2 separate regions of the Homo sapiens genome follow, and region 1 is linked to region 2. The links are contacts of gene promoters, found by promoter capture Hi-C in blood cells and fetal thymus (Javierre and others, 2016). All regions are on one chromosome and are shown on one strand. Each heading gives the region's core, a stretch centred on a gene start or on the middle of the fragment in contact. The rest is flanking DNA. Distances are from core to core; before and after follow the strand shown. Region 1 has its middle 110 kb from the start of ATF7IP. Region 2 holds the start of GUCY2C-AS1 (GUCY2C antisense RNA 1).

Region 1 (5,857 bases), core at 2,206-4,705, 410 kb before region 2:
TCTTCTGTTTTGAAAACGGTATTTTTTTACTGTGGTAATCCTGTTTTCCTTTCATTTTTGTGCAATAGATGTTTCAGGATGATCAAATATATTATTTAGCTATAGGTTCCAAAATCATAAGGCCTTTTAGAATAGTGCTATTCAAAGACTATAAAGCTATGTTGCACTTTTGCAACTATAGACATATATGTGATACTTCTGAGAATTTTTATTTAAGCCAAACAAAATAAAACAAAACACCATGATCTCTTGAACATTGTCATTGTCACTGTACTATTTCATGGCCAAGCCAAAATTCTTTGAGAGCAGATAATAGGAAAGATAGTATTTCATACAAAGTTGAGAAAATCATGGATGGCTAGTACAGGTTAACTAAATTATGCAAAGGCATGTATTGAGATGATGACACAATAAAGACAGGAATTCGGGGCTTTCTCTGTTTTCATTCAGAGACAAGAAAAGACTAGGCAGCAAAGCTGGGCATGGTGGCTCACACCTGTAATCTCAACACTTTGGGAGGCTGAGGCGGGAGGATCACTTGAGCCCAAGAGTTTTAGATCAGCCTGGGCAACATAGTGAGACCCCCCATCTCTACTGAAAATCAAAAATTATCTGGGCATGATGGCAATGTGCCTGTAGTCCCGGCTACTAGGGAGGCTGAGGTAGAAGAATTGCTTGAGCCCAGGAGGTTGAGGCTGCAGTGAGCCTTAATAGCGCCACTACCATCCAGCCTGAGTGACAGAGTGAGGCCCTGTCTCAAAAAAAAGAGACCAGGCAGCAGCTACTGACACCCTAGCTTACTACCCATCTCTGGGCACTATCTCTTATTAACCTATCTTTGAATTTTTATTAGGGTGACACCAGCAATAGTCCCATACTCCTAATCCAGGTAAGGGAAAAGAGAGCTGGAGGCAGAAACAAGGAGGGAAGGGATGAAGATGGAAAAGAGAGAAAGAAAATGAATGCCAACTAGTCTTCCTCTCCTCACTTTGGCAGTGATAGACTCTTGCTCACTCCCTTTGTGCACTCTGGTAGAAAAGCAGCACATTCCATTTAGTTATGCCTCTGTCAGCACGGCGAGTGTTATTTAATTGCAGAAAACAATTTGGAGATAAGAGTGAGATTCAGGAAGGAAATTATTTTCCTTTCTTTTCAAAAATGGTACAAAAATAACAAGAACAAAACCATACTTAAGGAAGGAAGTAGATGGAACACAATAATATGGAGAACCATTATTCCTTCCCAGATTAGGCAGGAGAGCTAGGATCTAGTCCTATCTGGCCACACAAAACACATGGTTCAAGCTTTCTGGAGTTCCGTTTCCTCATCTGAAAAGGCAGGGGGTTAATTTTGTATTAAGATACTTTGAAGAAGGAATAACCATTTTTCGTGAAAGTTCAAGGGAGGATATAAAAAGAAACTAAGATTTAACAACACTTATCTTGTGCCAGGTAATTAGCACTAGGATTTTTAAAGTAGAGACTCAAGCATCCTGGGTTTGTGTTTGTGTTCTGCCTTCTACTAGCTGTGTGACCTTGGGCAAGTTACCTAACTTCTCTGTGTTTCCTTGTCCCCAGCAGAAAATGGGAACAATGGGCCAGGCACAGGGGCTCACGCCTGTAATCCCAGCACTTTGGGAGGCTGAGGCGAGAGGATCACTTGAGTCCAGGAGTTCAAAACCAGCCTAGGCAACATAGCAAGACTTCCTCTCTACTAAAAATCTAAAAATTAGCCAGAAGCAGTGGTACAAGCCTGCAGTCTGAGCTACTCTGGAGGCTGAGGCAGGAAGATCACTTGAGCCCAGGAGTTCAAGGCCACAGTGAGCTATGACTGCACCACTATACTCCAGCCTGAGCAACAGACAGAGATCCTAACTATAAAAAATAAAAATAAAATGGGAACAATTGTACCTTCTCCAAAGGGTGGCTATGAGGAAAACAGTTTATATATACAATGTGGTTTATACATACTATATATACATATATATCATAACAGTAAACTGGCACAAAGTATTGCTATGTAATTGCTCTTATAATGATTATTACAACTTTATAGAGATATTTTTATAGATGAAAAAACAAAATAGATGAGGAAACCACGGCTTCAGAGCTTTGAGTTTTTCTGACCTCAATATTCGGTCTCTCAACTATTGATTACCCTGAACCAGTTAAAAGAAGTGAAAGTCAGCCGGGCGTGGTGGCTCACGCCTGTAATCCCAGCACTTTGGGAGGCTGAGGTGGGCAGATCACCTGAGGTTAGGAGTTCGAGACTAGCCTGGCCAACATGGAGAAACTGTCTCTACTAAAAACACAAATTAGCCGGGTGTGGTGACGCATGCCTGTAATCCCAGCTACTCGGGAGGCTGAGGCAGGAGAATCTCTTGAACGCCAGAGGCGGAGGTTGTGGTGAGCTGAGATCGTGCCATTGCACTCCAGCCTGGGCAACAGGAGCGAAACTCCATCCCAAAAAAAAAAAAAAAAAAAAAAAGAAGTGAAAGTCACAGAATTTTGTAGTCAGTTAGGGAAATCCTACCAGTTTCACAACGAGTCAATCAAAACCTTGCAATAAATACACAATAAAGCTGTGCTTCAAATGTCCTCCAACACCTAGCACAGCTTTTAGAACAGCTAATTTGCTTAGGTGAAGAAATGCTCCAGGCAGGGCACAGTGGCTCATGCCTGTGATCCCACCTCACTGGGAGGCAGAGGTAGGAGTCACTTGAAGCCAGGAGTTTGAGGGCAGCCAGAGCAACACAGAGAGACCCTGTCTCTGTGAAAAAATAAAAAAATAAATAGGCCAGGCATGGTGGCTCATGCCTGTAATCCCAGCACTTTGGGAGGCCCAGGCGGGTGGATCATTTGAGGTCAGGAGTTCAAGACCAGCCTGGTCAACATGGCGAAAGCCCATCTCTACTAAACATACAAAAATTAGCCAGGCTTGGTGGTAGGCACCTGTAATCCCAGCTACTAGGGAGTCTGAGGCAGGAGAATCGCTTGAACCAGGGAGGTGGAGGTTACAGTGACCAGAGATTGCACCACTGCACTCCAGCCTGGGCAACAAAGTGAGACTCTGTCTCAAAAAAAAAAAGAAAAATAGAAAAAAATAACCAAGTGTGATGGTGCATGCCTATAGTCCCAGCTACTCTGGAGGCTGAGGTGAGAGGATCACTTGAGCCCAGAAGTCAAGGCTGCAGGGAGCCAGGATCAGGCCACTGCACTCTAGCTAGCATCAGTGACAGAGTGAGACCCTGTCTCAAAAAAAAAAAAAGCCCCAAAGACATTACTCTTGTGTTGGGCTGAAATCCAGTGAATTGGTGGCCCCTCTCTCTCTCTCTCATCTGAAGGTTTTCAGAGATGCAAATTGCCTACTTGAAATTCTGTGGCATTAGACTTCTGCTTGGATGAGTCCCTGGCCAGGAGTAGAATCTTTTTTTTTTTTTTTGAGACTGAGTCTTGCTCTGTCACCCAGGCTGGACTGCAGTGGCACGATCCCAGCTTAGTGCAACCTCTGCCTGCCGGGTTCAAGCGATTCTCCTGTATCCCCTCCCTAGTAGCTCAGATTACAGGCACCCACCACCATGCCCAGCTAATTTTTATATTTTTAGTAGAGACGGGGTTTTGCCATGTTGGCCAGGCTGGTCTCAAACTCCTGACCTCAAGCGATCCACCCACCTCAGCCTCCCAAAGTGCTGGGATTACAGGCGTGAGCCACCTCGCCCAGCTAGGATCCATTTTTTTTTTTTTTTTTTTTTTGGGACAGAGTCTCGCTCTGTCACCCAGGCTGGAGTGTGGAGTGCAGTGGCGCGATCTCGGCTCACCGCAACCTCCACCTCTTGGGTTCAAGCAATTCTCCTGCGTCAGCCTCCTAGTAGCTGGGACTACAGGTGCATGCCACCACACCCAGCTAAGTTTTTGTATTTTTAGTAGAGGTGAGGTTTCACTGTGTTAGCCAGGATGGTCTCAATCTCCTGACCTCATGATCGGCCCACCTTGGCCTCTCAAAGTGCTGGGATTACAGGCGTGAGCCACCATGCCCGTTGTGTGTGTGTGTGTGTGTGTGTGTGTGACACGAAGTTTCAATCTTGTTGCCCAGGCTGGAGTGCAATGGCATGATCTCAGCTCACTGCAACCTCTACCTCCCGGGTTCAAGCAATTCTCCTGTCTCAGCCTCCCGAGTAGCTGAGATTACAGGCGCCCGTCACCACCCCTGGCTAATTTTTGTATTTTTAGTAGAGATGAGGGTTTCTCCATGTTGGCCAGGCTGGTCTCGAACTCCTGACCTTCGGGTGATCCACCCACCTCGGCCTCCCAAAGTGCTGGAATTACAGGCATGATCCACCAGGCCTGGCCGCCAGGATACTCTTTTAAAGGAGGAATTGGTAAATCCTTTCCCTCTGGTGATAGGGACAGTTTTGATAAAGATGGAAGGGGGAAAACCATGTGCATGACTCCAGACTCAGAAACCAAAACCCAAGTTGAATTCCATCTCAGAGTAAAATCAAGTACTACAGATGAGAAAACACAGACGGTAAGAATTATAAGACTAGTGTGTCTTTTCTTAGGGGATAAAAGCTGTTTGACAGCATCTGCAACAAGTGGTTCACAAACACGTCCATCATCTACTTCCTCAACAAGAAGGAGCTGTTGGAGGAGAAGATCACACACAGCCCCTGACCATCTGCTTCCCTGAGTACACAGGGTCCAACAAGTATGATGAGGCAGCCAGCTACAACCAGAGTAAGTCTGAGGACCTGAATAAGCACAAAGACACCAAGGAGATCTACACACACTTCACATGCGCCACCGATACCAAGAACGTAGTTCGTGTTTGATGCCATCACCGACGTCATCATCAAGAACAACCTGAAGGACTGGGGCCTCTTCTGAGGGGCAGTGGGACCTAGCAGGATGGGCCACCACCAACTCTGTACCCCCCAACCCCTGAGGAAGATGGGGCAAGAAGACCATGGTCCCCACCTGTTCCCTGGACACTTTTCTCTTCTTTCCTTTGTTCTTAGCTCCCCCATCCCCTCAGCTTCAGACATAGGGGAGGGGTTGCCACAGGCCTCCCTGTTTGAAGCCTGCCCTTGTCTGAGGTGCCAGTAATGGCCATGGTACCCCCTTTCTGGGCATCTTTCTGGTACCCCCCAGAAGCTGTGAAGATTCTATTCTACTCAGTAGCTCTCATTATGTAAAGAGGAACCCTGAAATAAATCAGTTGTTCCTGAAAGTTCACAAGAGTAAGAAAACAGACTGAATCGTAAAAGAACTAACTGGTATAAAAGAAGAAGCCAGAAAGTAGTGGACTGGGACCAGAGAAATAATATTTGAATTTAATTAATCTGTTCAACAAATATTTGCTCCTTGCTAACATTTTGCCAGGTCCTATGCTTGTTATACAGTTTTGATCAGACAGACACGGCCCAAGGGTACTTAGAAAGCTAGTTGCGGGTGAAGGGGGAGAGCCAATGTACAAGAAAACAAATATATATAATTGTAAGTTACAGTGGTGCTACAACAGAAAAAAAGAGGTTGCCATGTAAGATGATAAGAAGGTATAAGGAATTTACTTTGGACCAAGCATTCAGGAAGGCCTCTGAGGAAGGCAAAGCTTGACCAGAGGGTAGGAGGAACTCAGAGGACAGTGAAAGGAGAGAGGAATAAGGGGTGGGGGGGGAGGGTGGAGATTTCAAGGTGGAGTGAAAAATGCAAAGATCCTAAAATAAAAGCATCTCTAAGAATCAGAGGGCCAGTTTGGATGGCTTGACCTCTACCCTTCTTGAATCCCCTTTGATACTGAACATTTTGGAAAATCCCGTGTAGCATATACTGTGTGCCTTCCCACAATAACTGATGAC
Region 2 (6,231 bases), core at 39-2,538:
GATAATCCCACTCACTGGTCTATCAAAATTGCACATCCCCTAGACTAGAGTATAAACTGGAGGGAATATGGGGACTCCTCAGCCCACCTCAATTCTCTGCCTCCTACAGTATGAACATCTCACTGTATTAGATATAATTATAATATTTATATATAGTATTTAAATATACTATTTAAATGTAGTCATTTTTAATTAAACATGCTTTTCAGTTTTGCCTTTTAGATAAACGCAGTATCAAGTTCTAAATTCCAAGGTTAAGCTTCTGCTGCCTTCTGGTGGCTGCTGTAGTTATCACATTCTATTTAACTCATCTCACAATGAATGAGAGTTTATAACCTCAAGGTCATATGATATTACGGTTGGAAGGAACCTGATAAACTTCTTGATTTAACAGGGGAAGAAACTCACACTTAGAAAAGAGAAATAAATTGACTGAAATTAACAGAGTATAGATGAGTGCTGGAGTCCAGAGTAGAAATATATTCAGTTATCTCATGTTGTCATTCATTCATTCATTCATTCATTCATTTATTCATTCCAAGGCACTGTGTTGGGGCAAGGAAATATGAATAAGAATAAGCCCTGAGGGGGCGCGGTGTCTCACACCTGTAATCCCAGCACTTTGGGAAGCCAAGGCGGGTGGATCACGAGGTCAGGAGTTCGAGACCAGCCTGGCCAACATGGTGAAACCCCGTCTCCACTAAAAACATAAAAATTAGCCGGCCGCGGTGGCAGGTGCCTGTAATCAGTTCCAGCTACTTGGAAGGCTGAGGCAGGAGAATCTCTTGAACCTGGGAGGCGGAAGTTGCAGTGAGCCGAGATTGGGCCACTGCACTCCAGGCCGGGCAACACTGCGAGGCTCCGTCTCAGGAAAAAAAAAAAAAAAAAAAGCTAAGGAAAGTTGAGATTCCGGTTAAATCTTGAGGATGAGTAGATGTTTCCCACCTCTATGGAGAAGTGATAAATTCTATTCCGAGGGAGTAGCATAAATAAGGACACAGCGGCATAAATTTGCATGACGCTTTAAGGAAGTAGGGAGGAAGCTGAGAGCATGGGGAAGGGATAGGTGAGTAAAAGATAAGTAGGGAGATTACGGGCACTTTGTGCTGTATTAAGTAACTTGGACTGTATTCTGTAGGTAAAGCAGAGTTGCCAATTGACATGTTAGCAACAGTGCAGTGACATGATTGGACTTGTGCTTTCTTTCTGATAGCAGGATGGGTTGGATGGAAGTGGGCAGGACTAATGCAGGAAGTCAGTTTGACGTCATTTTTGTGATACAGGAAGCAGATGCTGAGGACTTGGATGAGGACGGGCACCAAATCTGCATTGTCCATTGCTATTTCCCAGGTGCTCAGAACATTGTCTGGCATTAAATAAATATCTTTGTTAAATAAATGAAAGAACAGGGATGGTGTAATCTCTTGGTGAAATGTTTTGTTACTTAGTAGCTGTGTACACACAGATGCAAGTTCCAGTCATGCATATCGTATTTCTATACTATTTCAAAGGTTGAGTTGCTGAAGCGGCTTCATTGTCTGGGGACATACCCAAGGTTCGTCATCGCGTGACGAGAAGATTAAGGACACAGACGCAAACACGGAGCGGGTCAAGTAGCGGAAAGTTTAATAGGCAGGAAAGAAGAGAACAGCTCACCGGTAGAGAGGTAGGAGGGCTCTGAAGGGAAAAAACCATGCTTGTGGTGGGAAGCAGTAGGTTATATAGGGAGGCTTCAGGAGGCGGTGTCTGATTTATATAGGGCCCAGGGGATTGGTTTGACCAGTGTGCCATTTACATAGCCCTGAAGAAACTGGCCCTCTCACCCTAATCTTTTATTATGCAAATGCGGCCTCTACCTGGCTGGCGCCATGACACCCACACATGTGGCTTTACCCGGCCGGCACAATGACACCCCCACACATGGCTACAAAGAAAAGGGAGGGGAAATCGCTATATTGGGTGGACCTGGCTTTTAGTACAGCTGCGGGCATTCATCTACGCAAGCTTCCAGCTTGCTTATTTATGCTTGCAGTTCAGCTTTTCAGGCTGCTTTTTGCTAGAAAAGAAATGGTTTGGAGACTGTTTTCAATTAAAAGAAAATGCCTGGCTGGGCGCCGTGGCTCATGCCTGTAATCTCAGAACTTTGGGAGGCCGAGGCAGGCGGATCACGTGAGGTCAGGAGTTCCAGACCAGCCAGCCCAACATGGCGAAACCCCGTCTCTACTAAAAATACAAAAATTAGCCGGGCGTGGCGGCAAACACCTGTAATTCCAGCTACTCGGGAGGCTGAGGCAGGAGAATCGCTTGAATCCGGGAGGCAGAGGTTGCAGTGAGCCAAGATTGCACCACTGTACTCCAGCCTGGGTGATACAGCCAGACAATGTCTCCAAAAAAAAAAAAAAAGAGTAAGAAAAGAAAAGAAAAAGCCTTACTGAGGACTCCTGTACCCTCGCTACCTGCCTAAATAATTTCTTTTTAACTCCTATATTATTGCTTCATTGGTAAAGTTTAGAGCTAAATGTAGTAAGTAACAGTTAAGTATTGAAAAGCTCTGGCTAACTGAGGTTGTTAGTTAACTGAGGCTGAAGTAAAGTTGCTCAGGATAATATAACGTCCCTGTAGGATATAGTATGAATATTTAATGTTCACTTTAGGAACACTTTTACACTGTTGGTGGGACTGTAAACTAGTTCAACCATTGAGGAAGTCAGTTCTCTTTAAGTAAAGAGAACTCTCTCAAAAAGTACTTTTTGAGAAGTTCAGCACTTTAGAAATCACAGACCTATTGAATAACCAAAATACCAAAAAACTTGAAGGAAATACATTAAAAACACAAACCTAACTTTGTCACTGACAGTTATAATTAAGAAGAAAGAAAAAATAATTTGAACTCAAAAAGTTACAAAAGAAGTTGAGAGTTGCAGAAGCCCATGAGAAAAGAGATATATTTCAGAAGTCAAGTTTGGTTTAAAACTAGAAAGCTTGAAGATGGTTCCAGAAAGTTTTAAAAGCTTATTAAATAAAACTCGACTTTAAAAAGCAATCATAGCAATAAATCTGAAGTCAGCTCAGGATTGCTTATTGTCTAGAAGAATGCCATCTTCATTCCCCCCTCCCTCATTTCGTTAATCAGCTGCTAATACCTGTTGGATAAAAGTACAGGAATCATTTTGGACTTAATTTGACTCATGGAGTGAAAGAAAACTAGAAACGCAGGTATAGCTCTGACACAAGCAAGCCCTTCAAACCAGAAATGTTCCCTTTATATCAGATCAAATTTTCAGAGTTTCTGGCTGTAGAGCGGGGCTGGTATAAAAATATTTGTAGCTTATAATTTTTAATACTTTTTGAAAATAAGAAACTAATACAGAGTCATTGTGGAAATTTTGGAAAATTCAGAAAAATAGAATAAAGCAAAAAAAATCTTGCAGGATCCCATCAGTCAGAGGACACCACTCTTAACAGTTTAACATATTTCTTTCCAGTCTTATTTCTATGCATTGTTTTACAAAGTTAGAATCTCATTAAATAAGAAGCTGTACTTTTCTATTACTTTACATCATAAGTTTTCCCATGTCATTTAACATTCTTCATAAATAATTATTTTTAATTGGTTGCCTGATGCTCCATTTGTGAATATATAATAATTTTCTTTTTTTTTTTTTTTTTTTTTTGAGGCAGGGTCTTGCTCTGTCATCCAGGCTGGAGTGCAGTGGCACAATCATGGCTCACTGCAGCCCCAACTTACTGGGCTCAAGTGATCCTCCCACCTCAGCCTCCTGAGTAGCTGGGACCACAGGTATGCACCTCTATGTCCACTAATTTATATATATATATTTTTGAGACGGAGTCTTGCTCTGTTCCCCAGGCTGGAGTGCAGTGGCGTGATCTTGGCTTACAACAACCTCTGCCTCCTGGGTTCAAGCGATTCTCCTGCCTCAGCCTCCTGAGTAGCTAGGATTATAGGCACGCACCATCATGCCCAGCTAATTTTTGTATTTTTAGTAGAAACGGAGTTTCACCATGTTGGTCAGGCTGGTCTCGAACTGCTGACCTCGTTATCCACCCACTTCAGCCTCCCAAAGTGCTGGGATTACAGGCGTGAGCCACCACTCCCAGCCTTAATTTATAAATGTTTGTAGAGATGGGATCTCACTGTGTTGCCCAGGCTATCTTGAACTTCTGGCCTCAAGCAATCCTCCCACCTCAGTCTCCCAAAGTGCTGGGATTACAGGCATGAGCCACCACGCTTGGCTCTAAATAATTTTATTGATGGTATTTCTACTTTTTTTTTTTTTTTTAAATCTTTGGGCTAAATATCTGTCCAGATTTAAGACTTTTTCTTAAAGATTTTTCCTAGTCACATGGAATTACCACTCATTATGGCAAGCCCTGGCCAAGCCAGTCATGGACAGATTGTCCTGAGGCCTCGTTGCCCAGGAGATCCTGAGTGGCCCTGCCTGCTGCTGATGGTGAGTGTGCAGCTTGCACGGGTGAAAGCTGGCCAAGTCATGTTAGGGCTATTCATGACATGATAGGACCTAATCTTAAGTAGGTGGGTAACTATCATTGCAACCCAAATATGTGTCCAGTATGGGAACAGGGGAGACTGTAAAGGCCAGGATCACTGGTCACCCCTCAGCCTGATATGTCAAGTATTTCTTGCTGAAATACACAACCTTTTAGCTTATTGCAGTAAAATGTAAATGGAGTAAGAATATATGTCTCTGTGCTCATTTTTGCCAGTTGTCAAACCCGGTTTTCTGTGGAATAATTTATGTCAAATGGTAGGACATATTTTAAAGATAGGTATAGCTAAATTAGAATAAGAATGTTTTCTTTCTTTCCTTTTTTTTCTTTTTCTTTTTTTTTTTTTGAGACAGGATCTCACTCTGTTGCCCAGCTGGAGTGCAGTAGAACAAAGATAGCTCATTGCAGCCTCAACTTCCTGGGCTCAACTGGTCCTCCTACCTCAGCCTCCCAAGTAGCTGGGAACACGGCTGTGTGCCACTATGCCTGGGTAATTTTTTTTTTTTTTTAGTATTTTTGGTAGAGACAGAGTTTCACCATGTTGCCCAGGCTGGTCTGAAACTTTTAGGCTTAAGCAGTCTTCCTGCCTTGGCCTCCCAAAGTGCTGGGATTACAGGCATAAGCCACCATGCCTGGCCAGAAATCACTGTTGAATCAGAACTATAATATCATTCATTGTGCAGGGAAGTAAGGACCACATTTACAAACTGGACAGCAGGAAATCAAACTGGGACAGCAGACAAAACACAGCAAAAAGCACAGGCTAATTACATAAACAATAGACTTTACTTTTCTTACCAGGAAAACAGTGTCAGGGAGAGAAAATTCATTAGGGATATCTTACCCCGGCCTGTAATATCATTAGGAAGTTTAGAGTTCTTCCAAGTGAATGTGGGGCTCATATCCACAGGATAGGTCTTATTTACGTGGGTATCATAGGTCAAAAGAACCTTGTACTGTGTCAGGGCACAAAAAAGAAAAAGGATGAACAGTAAAACATTATAGAACAAATTATGGTGAGATTAATGATTCTACACAATGACGCTTGATTTCCATAACAATTCTCAGTGAAAAAAGGCAACTGTTAACCAGCTAGTTAGGATCATTTATTGATTCCCAGCATGAACACAGATATAACTTCAGATGGACCGATTAGTTTCCTATTTCTTTATGCTCATACACTACACCATTAACTCCTGTCTGTCCAGCACAGATTCTGTGGGCCTTTAGTGAATCAGTTCAAGTATTTCATTTTTCAAATGTTAAACTAGAGGCTAAGAAATATTAAATGGCTAGCTCCAAGTCACATGATAAATGAAAGACTAGTGTTTTCCACAATATTAAGTTGCTTTTGAAAAAAGCTCTCAAGAAAATGCAGCAGAGCTAAAATCCATTATGTCATTTTGATACATATCAAGGGGCCCTGAAATAACTACATTTCTTAACTTCTATCCATTACTTAATTTTCTAATCTCTTCTATTCCTTGGCTCTAATATGCTTTTCTTGTACATGACATTAATTAGTTTCTAAAATAAAAGATTTCATTTTCAAGTCATTTGCCAATGGAAATATTAATATATCCTTAAATTACTGCTGCATATATTGAGTCAATTTTGTAAGGGAGATCTGAAAGATGACTGATATGGTTTGGCTGTGTCCCCACCAAAATCTCAACTTGAATTGTATCTCCCAGACTTCCC

The links. The method cuts DNA at HindIII sites, captures the fragments that hold promoters and counts their contacts. A CHiCAGO score of 5 or more calls a contact.
Region 1: a contact is called between a fragment that was not itself captured here and the fragment with the promoter of GUCY2C-AS1 in region 2, in 11 of 17 cell types (naive CD8 T cells, naive CD4 T cells, total B cells and 8 more). The highest score is 12.4, in naive CD8 T cells.

The regions. Positions count from the first base shown.
Region 1 is chr12:14,250,346-14,256,202 of GRCh38, forward strand. It overlaps the pseudogene GNAI2P1. Among named protein-coding and RNA genes, the nearest start is that of ATF7IP, 110 kb to the right of the region's middle. The HindIII fragment of the contact is 4,306 bases long and covers 1,303-5,608 here.
Region 2 is chr12:14,664,348-14,670,578 of GRCh38, forward strand. GUCY2C-AS1 (GUCY2C antisense RNA 1) reads left to right here and starts at 1,289. Exons shown (of 6, transcript NR_186173.1): 1 at 1,289-1,350; 2 at 1,512-1,666; 3 at 3,682-3,799. It overlaps GUCY2C (guanylate cyclase 2C), which reads right to left. Exons shown (of 27, transcript NM_004963.4): 10 at 5,375-5,486. The HindIII fragment of the contact is 1,745 bases long and covers 258-2,002 here.